3 separate regions of the Homo sapiens genome follow, and regions 1 and 2 are each linked to region 3. Evidence: promoter capture Hi-C in human tissues and cell types (Jung and others, 2019). All regions are on one chromosome and are shown on one strand. Each heading gives the region's core, a stretch centred on a gene start or on the middle of the fragment in contact. The rest is flanking DNA. Distances are from core to core; before and after follow the strand shown. Region 1 overlaps BNIP3L (BCL2 interacting protein 3 like). Region 2 overlaps BNIP3L (BCL2 interacting protein 3 like). Region 3 holds the start of PNMA2 (PNMA family member 2).

What was found. Contacts are between HindIII fragments. The study calls those that stand out against the background at their distance.
Region 1: a contact is called between a fragment that was not itself captured here and the fragment with the promoter of PNMA2 in region 3, in 4 of the 25 tissues and cell types used here (dorsolateral prefrontal cortex, hippocampus, liver and 1 more).
Region 2: a fragment that was not itself captured here is called in contact with the fragment with the promoter of PNMA2 in region 3 in 4 of the 25 tissues and cell types used here (IMR-90 fibroblasts, aorta, dorsolateral prefrontal cortex and 1 more).

The regions. Positions count from the first base shown.
Region 1 is chr8:26,390,369-26,393,177 of GRCh38, forward strand. BNIP3L (BCL2 interacting protein 3 like) reads left to right here. Exons shown (of 6, transcript NM_004331.3): 2 at 875-1,058. Among named protein-coding and RNA genes, the nearest start is that of BNIP3L, 8.7 kb to the left of the region's middle. RefSeq lists an enhancer at 791-935 and a cis regulatory region at 854-871. The HindIII fragment of the contact is 4,436 bases long and covers 1-2,809 here.
Region 2 is chr8:26,411,951-26,414,650 of GRCh38, forward strand. BNIP3L (BCL2 interacting protein 3 like) reads left to right here. Exons shown (of 6, transcript NM_004331.3): 6 at 1-1,177. Among named protein-coding and RNA genes, the nearest start is that of BNIP3L, 30 kb to the left of the region's middle. The HindIII fragment of the contact is 4,202 bases long and covers 1-2,700 here.
Region 3 is chr8:26,512,597-26,515,296 of GRCh38, forward strand. PNMA2 (PNMA family member 2) reads right to left here and starts at 1,276. Exons shown (of 3, transcript NM_007257.6): 1 at 1,220-1,276. DPYSL2 (dihydropyrimidinase like 2) reads left to right here and starts at 1,435. Exons shown (of 14, transcript NM_001197293.3): 1 at 1,435-2,083. The coding sequence starts at 1,730. RefSeq lists an enhancer at 1-390. The HindIII fragment of the contact is 13,621 bases long and covers 1-2,700 here.

The DNA.
Region 1 (2,809 bases), core at 185-2,684, 120 kb before region 3:
CACCCCTTCAACTTTTTGTCCAAGAAAACTTTTCGTGTTTGCCTGTAGCTGATGTGCAGTTGTTTCTGCTCCCAAATCAACAGGGTTTAATGAAAACCCTAGAAAGTAGAAACCCGTGGGAGAGAAAAGAAAAAAGACAAGTTCACAAGGTATGTTTAGTGTATAAAAAAGGAGAAGGACTAGAAAGCCTGAGATACAAAGGAAATGAAGAAACTAATCAGTGAGATAGAGATAAAGCTTTTTTCTGAATTTTTAGCATTATTACCTGATTTAGTTAACCAGCTGCATTAATTTTATGCTCCTGATTTGTGCACAAATTGAAATTTTTGCTATTGGATTTAGGTTCCCTCTCTAGGAGTTTCTCAGTTGTTTGCACTAAGTAGGATATAGTTGCTAACTTACTTAGATGACCTTTTATGAAATTTGTAGGTGATATATTTATTTCATTTCTGGAGCAGATACAGCTGAGCAGCTTAGGTAGACTATGAAGAAAGTGTGTGTGTATATATACACCAACTAAAATGTTAAAGGTAAATAGCCTAAAAGTAGCAATTTTTTTTTGAAAAGCAACCTGAGTTTTCAGTAGAGTGTTATTATAAACCAAGCTTTACCCAGAGAGAAATTGACTGAAAAACACGTTTTCTGAGATGTTTTAGAGTTTGAGCTGTTTCTCAGTTGATGGCATGAGCTATTTCAGGAACAGAACTATATAGATCTTTAGACTTTTATTACTTCTTATTTATTTTCTTCAGAATACTTTTACATTTGGTTTGAGGAGAGTCAGAATTCTTATCTGGATTCACCATGTTCACATCTGTGTGCACATGACAGATTTCAGTTCTGCTGTGGTTAACTTATCTGACTTGTCCAACAGGTTCCTGGGTGGAGCTACCCATGAACAGCAGCAATGGCAATGATAATGGCAATGGGAAAAATGGGGGGCTGGAACACGTACCATCCTCATCCTCCATCCACAATGGAGACATGGAGAAGATTCTTTTGGATGCACAACATGAATCAGGACAGAGTAGTTCCAGAGGCAGTTCTCACTGTGACAGGTAAGTGAGACCCATGTTTTGGTGGAATTCAGGAAACAGGTGGGTTACAGGGCTCATTCACTCTAGGAAAAATCTGTTTGCTTAAATCTTCACTTAGCAAAATATGCCTCCTGATATATTGTAGTATAATATATATTGCACAGATATATATTGTGTTTATATGAGACAGCTAATTGACAGGTGCTTCAGTGCCCACTGTTTTTCCCCAGATTGTCATTTTTCTTACCCAGATTATATTGTTTCTAGCAGTTTATCAGTTTAAAATTCAGTGGCATAAATGCTAATTTATAGAATTAATCTGACTTTCCCCCATTTTCCTTTGTGTCCCTGTGTTACAGATCACAGACTGTTCTTGAATTAGTTACCTCTGTATATATGTGTCTTCCCTTCTAGATGTTGACGTTGCAAAGGGCAGGGGCCATGTTTAATTTTTATTACCTTCACAGTAATGGTGCTGGCACGTAGTAGACACTCAGTAAATGTTTGATTCATAGGAACTGCAGGTTGCTTCACGTTATAGCAATATTTGCACAGTTGGAAGCACCAACCAAGGTCTGTAAAGATAGTTTTGAAGTCTCCTCTGCTTTCTCAGGGGATGTTTTGTTTCAGACCTCATTTTTCTATATTTGAGCTGAAGAAACTAATTACATGGATTAAGGACTGCTTATGGTGAAAGAGTAAGAATACAACGAGATATGTGTGTGGAATGAAACCAGGTCATTATTTTTTAGTATAAACTTTTCTGTTTTTTTTTTTTTTTTTCAGAAGGGCTAGATATTAAATGACATTTAAGAAATTCTTGTTTCAGTGACAGCTACACTGTTAGCATTATGGGGCACTGGATGACCTTCTGGGTGGTTGTTAACTGATGTTAACCATTTAGAAAATGCAAATGCACGGGAAGCAGATTAAGGAAATGTAAACAGTGACTATTTTTAGGAATGCAGTATGGATATGTTTCTTCTTAACATTTTTGTATTTTGTAAAAATTGTGTATATTGCACATATTATTACTTATCAGAAGAAGTGAAAAAAAGGAGAAATGAGTTAAATCATGTCCAACTTCCTGAGTGGCTTATGATCCACTAATGTTGCCAAGGCAGCGGGGGACTGGTTTGTTGGCTCTGTGGCACACTGTGCACCCCCGCCACCCCCGTGTCATCCCTGACTTGTCCCTGTGCTTCTTAGAGCCTGGGATGGCTCTTGTCATAAGCGGAACCAGAGCAGATGGCTCTCTTCTGAACAGCTTGCCCTTGATTCCAGTAGCTACAGCATTAGTCTGTCTTTCCGAATGAAGATTTATATTTATATTATGGAACTTGCTGATGGGTTTCTCAAGTTTTCTGCTTGTTATGGCCTGTCAACAAGGCTTTCACTCTGCGTTCAGGTGTGTGGGCCTTGATCATTGATACCATGGTGTCCATGAGCCTGTTGTTCACATGGTGCTGTCAATGAGCAGAGAACAGTCACCTGCTTACCTGTCTGTTCATCTTACTTCATTTATGGTGCAGTTTTACGTGTGACTGAATATGCCTTCACCCTCCTATGATCATGTTTAAGTTTAGGTTGCCATGAGGAGGCATGGCAAATGCTTTTGAACACTTTCGTACCCCTCATCTTATGTCTCTCCAGGCCCTAGATTAGTGGTCATCTTTCAGAGAATGGCTAGAACTCGAGTCTTCTGGGATAGCCTACTAACACGCTTTACCATTGAGGAGTGTCTTCAAAACTCACATCATCTGAATTGCCAT
Region 2 (2,700 bases), core at 171-2,670, 100 kb before region 3:
CTAACTCTTTTCTCACATCAACATTTGTAAAATTGATGTGTTATAGTGGAAAATAACATATAGATTAAACAAAATTTTTATCTTTTTTCAAGAATATAGCTGGCTATCTTTAAGAAAGATGATATATCCTAGTTTTGAAAGTAATTTTCTTTTTTCTTTCTAGCATTTGATGTCTAAATAATTTTGGACATCTTTTTCCTAGACCATGTTTCTGTCTTACTCTTAAACCTGGTAACACTTGATTTGCCTTCTATAACCTATTTATTTCAAGTGTTCATATTTGAATTTCTTTGGGAAGAAAGTAAATCTGATGGCTCACTGATTTTTGAAAAGCCTGAATAAAATTGGAAAGACTGGAAAGTTAGGAGAACTGACTAGCTAAACTGCTACAGTATGCAATTTCTATTACAATTGGTATTACAGGGGGGAAAAGTAAAATTACACTTTACCTGAAAGTGACTTCTTACAGCTAGTGCATTGTGCTCTTTCCAAGTTCAGCAGCAGTTCTATCAGTGGTGCCACTGAAACTGGGTATATTTATGATTTCTTTCAGCGTTAAAAAGAAACATAGTGTTGCCCTTTTTCTTAAAGCATCAGTGAAATTATGGAAAATTACTTAAAACGTGAATACATCATCACAGTAGAATTTATTATGAGAGCATGTAGTATGTATCTGTAGCCCTAACACATGGGATGAACGTTTTACTGCTACACCCAGATTTGTGTTGAACGAAAACATTGTGGTTTGGAAAGGAGAATTCAACAATTAATAGTTGAAATTGTGAGGTTAATGTTTAAAAAGCTTTACACCTGTTTACAATTTGGGGACAAAAAGGCAGGCTTCATTTTTCATATGTTTGATGAAAACTGGCTCAAGATGTTTGTAAATAGAATCAAGAGCAAAACTGCACAAACTTGCACATTGGAAAGTGCAACAAGTTCCCGTGATTGCAGTAAAAATATTTACTATTCTAAAAAAATGAGAATTGAAGACTTAGCCAGTCAGATAAGTTTTTTCATGAACCCGTTGTGGAAATTATTGGAATTAACTGAGCCAAAGTGATTATGCATTCTTCATCTATTTTAGTTAGCACTTTGTATCGTTATATACAGTTTACAATACATGTATAACTTGTAGCTATAAACATTTTGTGCCATTAAAGCTCTCACAAAACTTTTCCTGTCAGTATATCATTTTTCTGTCGCACCTGTTGCCTGGGAGTTTCAGGCGATGAGGCCTCCTCGCCTACACACAGCCTTCCAGTCATCTGGCTTCCCCAGCAGTGGAGTTCCTAACAGTGCTCAGGGTGTGAACGGTGTTCTGTGGGGACAGTCACCGCAGTGTGAGCATTCGTGAGTGCCTCGGGACTGTGGCATTCAGAGCATTTGCCTCCAGGTAGTGGCAGGAGGGCGCTCACGGGAGGAGTGCTCAGGAAGTACAGGAGAGAAGAAGAGTGTGCCCTGATGGAAATGACAGTGGGACACCAGTGAAAGTGGATCCAGAAGGAACTGGAAGTTCCACGTGCCTGGAAAACAGGATGGATACAGAGGAAACTGAAAAATGTAGGTTAGTACTGAACCTAATTGAAATGTGTGTGCCCTCCCAGGGGTCACACTTCATCATATAGTTAGCTGGGTTTACTTCTTTTAAACCAGGAGGTGATTTAAGATGTAAATTTTAGACAGTCAAGCCATCTGGTGAGAGAGTACCAGAGGAGATCAATCAGTTCTCTAGGCGAGGAGCTAGGGCCTGTCCTGGGCTGTCACCCTGAGGTTGGCAGTGGTGGGCCAGGATACGTATGAGAAACAAAGCGGAAGTAAACTGGTCAGAAAGTGACTTAGAGACGAAGGCGTGTGTATTCCTTTGTGTGTGTGGCCCGAAAACATGGGTTGATCCCATTAGTTAAAGGAGGACAGGAGAAGAAATGGGGTGGTAGGAGCAAAGAGGGAGGATTTCAGTTTTGAGTGCGTTGAACATGAAATGTCTGAGGGCCTTCTGATTGGACACTTATTAAATAGAACTATAACCCAGGAGAAGGGTCTGGAGTGGAAGTAAAACACAATCAGACCCATGCATTATATATTTATATGATGTTTAAAGATTGGACAATGGGCAAGGAAGAAAGTTACTCAAACAACAGGGAAGCCCAAAATTTGAAGGCTAAGCAGAAGAGAAGTTCTAGGTGAAATTGTTGGTATCACAGAAACCCCAAAAGTAGGAGGTGACCAAGCCTGACATGTTTCGTGGTTAAGTAAGATGAATCGAGAAGCTTTGGAATATGGCAGTCAGATCTGTGCTGATCTTTGCAAGAGCATTTTCTGTAGGAGTGAAAGAGGGATCCTGGATAAGATTGTGTTGGGTCAATGAATGAATAGCAAGAAGTGTTGGCTTTTTTGAATAAACTTCATGATTAAGAAAACAAGGGGGGAGTTTCTGAAGAGGAGACAGGATAGTAGGATTGTTGGCTTAGGTTGGGAATATAGAGGGGCCAATGTGTAGGCTAAGGAGAGAGAGCAAAGGGAGATATTAGCGTTACGGAGGGAGCAGATCAGTAATGGAAGAGTGGGACGTACTCCCTCCCGGAGAGGAAGGAAATGTAATTAAGCACTCAGGGAGGGTGAGCCTTAGAAAGGTGGAGTTTACAAAACCCAGACATTGATGACAGGAAATGAAGACATGAGAAGGGGTGAGTTAGAAAT
Region 3 (2,700 bases), core at 26-2,525:
CTCAGCCCAAACCCACCCTGGTTACTGAGCATGCCCAGAACTCCCTCCCGGGCCACCAAAGGAGGGGCACCATTTCTGCAGGATTTTGCCACTGTGGAAAGAGAGGCGGAGCTGTCATCGCGCAGAGGCAGGGACTGATACGCGGAAAGGACGTGGAGATGGGAATAAGCAATGAAGGACCAGCATTGACCGTGTTAGGCACACAAATCTAATTGCCCCCTGGTTACTTACCAACCCGGTGGCCGTGGCTCAGCTACTGCACACACACACCAAGTTCCTACACACCTTTCCCCTGCTTGGCCCCACACAATTCATGGCACTCACAGCCCACATCCTACCTCCTACTCCGCACCAGATGCGCACCCGCACTTACTCCCCAAACACGTGGCATCTGGTAACCCGGGAAACGCTGCGACTGTGGCGCAGTGCGCAACAGGGGCGGGGGAACCAGGCGGGGCTCTGGGGCGCAGGGGAAAGCTGGAGATTTGGGAAGGGGGTTTCAGTTTGTTTTTTCTCTCTTTTTTTTTTTTTTTTTTTTTTTTTGGTGGAGGAAGCAGAATAAACCAAATCGCGACACGTTCCTGCGCCCTTCTTGGCGCAGTGGCGCAGACACGGTCCATGGCGCCTTGCGCAATAGAGTCGGTCTGCACCCCGTCTTTAAGTCGTGGCCCTGGGCTGGAATTCCCGACTGCACTCTTTGCTACACCCCCATAGACCGCAGACCTGCGTCTCTCTCTATATTCCTCTCCCATCTGCTACGCCCCTCTGAATTTCTTCCCGCCATGTTGTGTGCCCCCCCCCCACTCCCCCGTCACCCCAACCACACCAAAGTGGATGCACGAAGCGGGAACCTTCTCGTTTCAGTCTCTGCTCCCTGCAGCCTGCCAAGGCGAGTGGACAAACTGAAGCTGGGGTGTCCAGCGTCTTGGCTGCCCCCCTCCTGTCCACCCTGCCTGTGCTATCCTTGCTCATCTTCAGTGCCATCCCGCTTCCCACACCCTGAGTAGCCTGGCGCCCGGCTTGTCCCCTTTTCCCATCCATCAGCTCACACCCAGGGTAACGGGGCGGGACCCCTATCCACAGTGCGCCCTCGCCCCCGGCCCACCTCCGCCATGCGGCGGGGCAGAGGCGCCTGGGCCAGGCAGGTGGAGGAGAGGGGCACTGGGGCTGGGGGCTGCGTCCTCCGGTCCTCACTCCGCGTGCCCTGCCCGATACTTACCCAGGCGCGGAGAGCGGTCAGCGGGCCCTCCGCTCCGCATCCATTAGCTGGTGGTCTGGCCGCTTCACTTCCGGAGCGCGGGGCTAGGGGCGGTGCCGCCCTCCCCTCTCTCTCTCCTTCCCTCCCCTCCAGCCCTCCCCTGAGCACCGCTCCCCTCCCCGGCGCCGCGCCCCGCCCGCGCCTCCCTCCTCCCAGCGCTGCCGGGAACTGGCAGCCTTTCGGCTCCCGCAGCCGCAGCGGACGCCCTCCCAGATCCAACTTTGCCGCTTCCCCGAGCTCGCGCTGTAGCCGCGGGGGGCGTGGGCAGGGAGGGGAGAAGCGGGGTCAGGGGGAGGGACCGGGAGGGTGGGTCGCCGGCTCGCCAGCCCTCCTTCCTTTCTGTGCACCTTGCGGTGGGCGGCGAACGGCAGCCGCGGCAGCAGCTAGGGGGCTTGTGCACACAGCGAGGGAGACTTAGGGACTGGCAGACGGACGGACGGACGGCGAGGACCCTACCCGAGCCCCCGAGCCATGGCCGAGAGAAAGCAATCCGGGAAGGCGGCAGAGGACGAAGAGGTCCCTGCTTTTTTTAAAAACCTGGGCTCCGGCAGCCCCAAGCCCCGGCAGAAATTCTGTGGCATGTTCTGCCCGGTGGAAGGGTCCTCGGAGAACAAGACCATCGACTTCGACTCGCTGTCGGTGGGCCGGGGCTCGGGGCAGGTGGTGGCTCAGCAGCGGGACGTCGCCCACTTGGGCCCGGACCCGCAGCCGCCGTACTCGCGGCAGGGCCGGCGCGCCGGCGGAGAGCCATCTGTTGAATCGGGCCGGAAGGTGGAGATCCGGAGGGCCTCGGGCAAAGAAGCCCTGCAGAACATCAACGACCAGGTCGGTGTGGGGGTTGGGGGTGGAGACGGAGGACGGGGCGCGGGGATCGCCCCTCCCTCGCCCCTGAGCCCGGCGCGCCCGCCTTCATGCCCCGCCCTGGACCTCGCCTCCCGCATCTGCACGCGCACCCCGCCCTACCCGCCCCTTCTCCGCGCAGGGTGCGGCGAGGCTCGGGCTGGGCGGTGGGCGGCCGTGCGCCCACAAAGGCTGCCCGCGTCTCCTTGAGCTTGAGAGGTGGGGCGTGGGCATAGGGAATGGGCTGATCCCCTGCTGGGGCGGGCGGTGGTCGTCTGGGAGGGGGTTGGCCGCGGTTCCATTCTTCTGAAACCCTCCCGGGCGGCTTCCGATTGCAGCTGCGGCTGGGTGCCCCACCCTTTTTTTGAGCGGCTCAGAGCGTGCGGTGGAGGCTTTGCGTGAAGGCCCGCGGCTCCCCGGTGGTCGGGAGGGGCGGGGGTTCGGACGGCCGCTCCCTACAGCCTCCGCCCGCGCCTTCTGCGCTCACGTCCCGAGCTCCGAGGCCAGGACCATGGTCAGCGCCCCCCGGACCCCCTCCGAGCACCGCACCGCCCTTGACTCCTGCTCGCAGCGTGAGAAGAGCCAGGAAGGCTGTGGAGTCA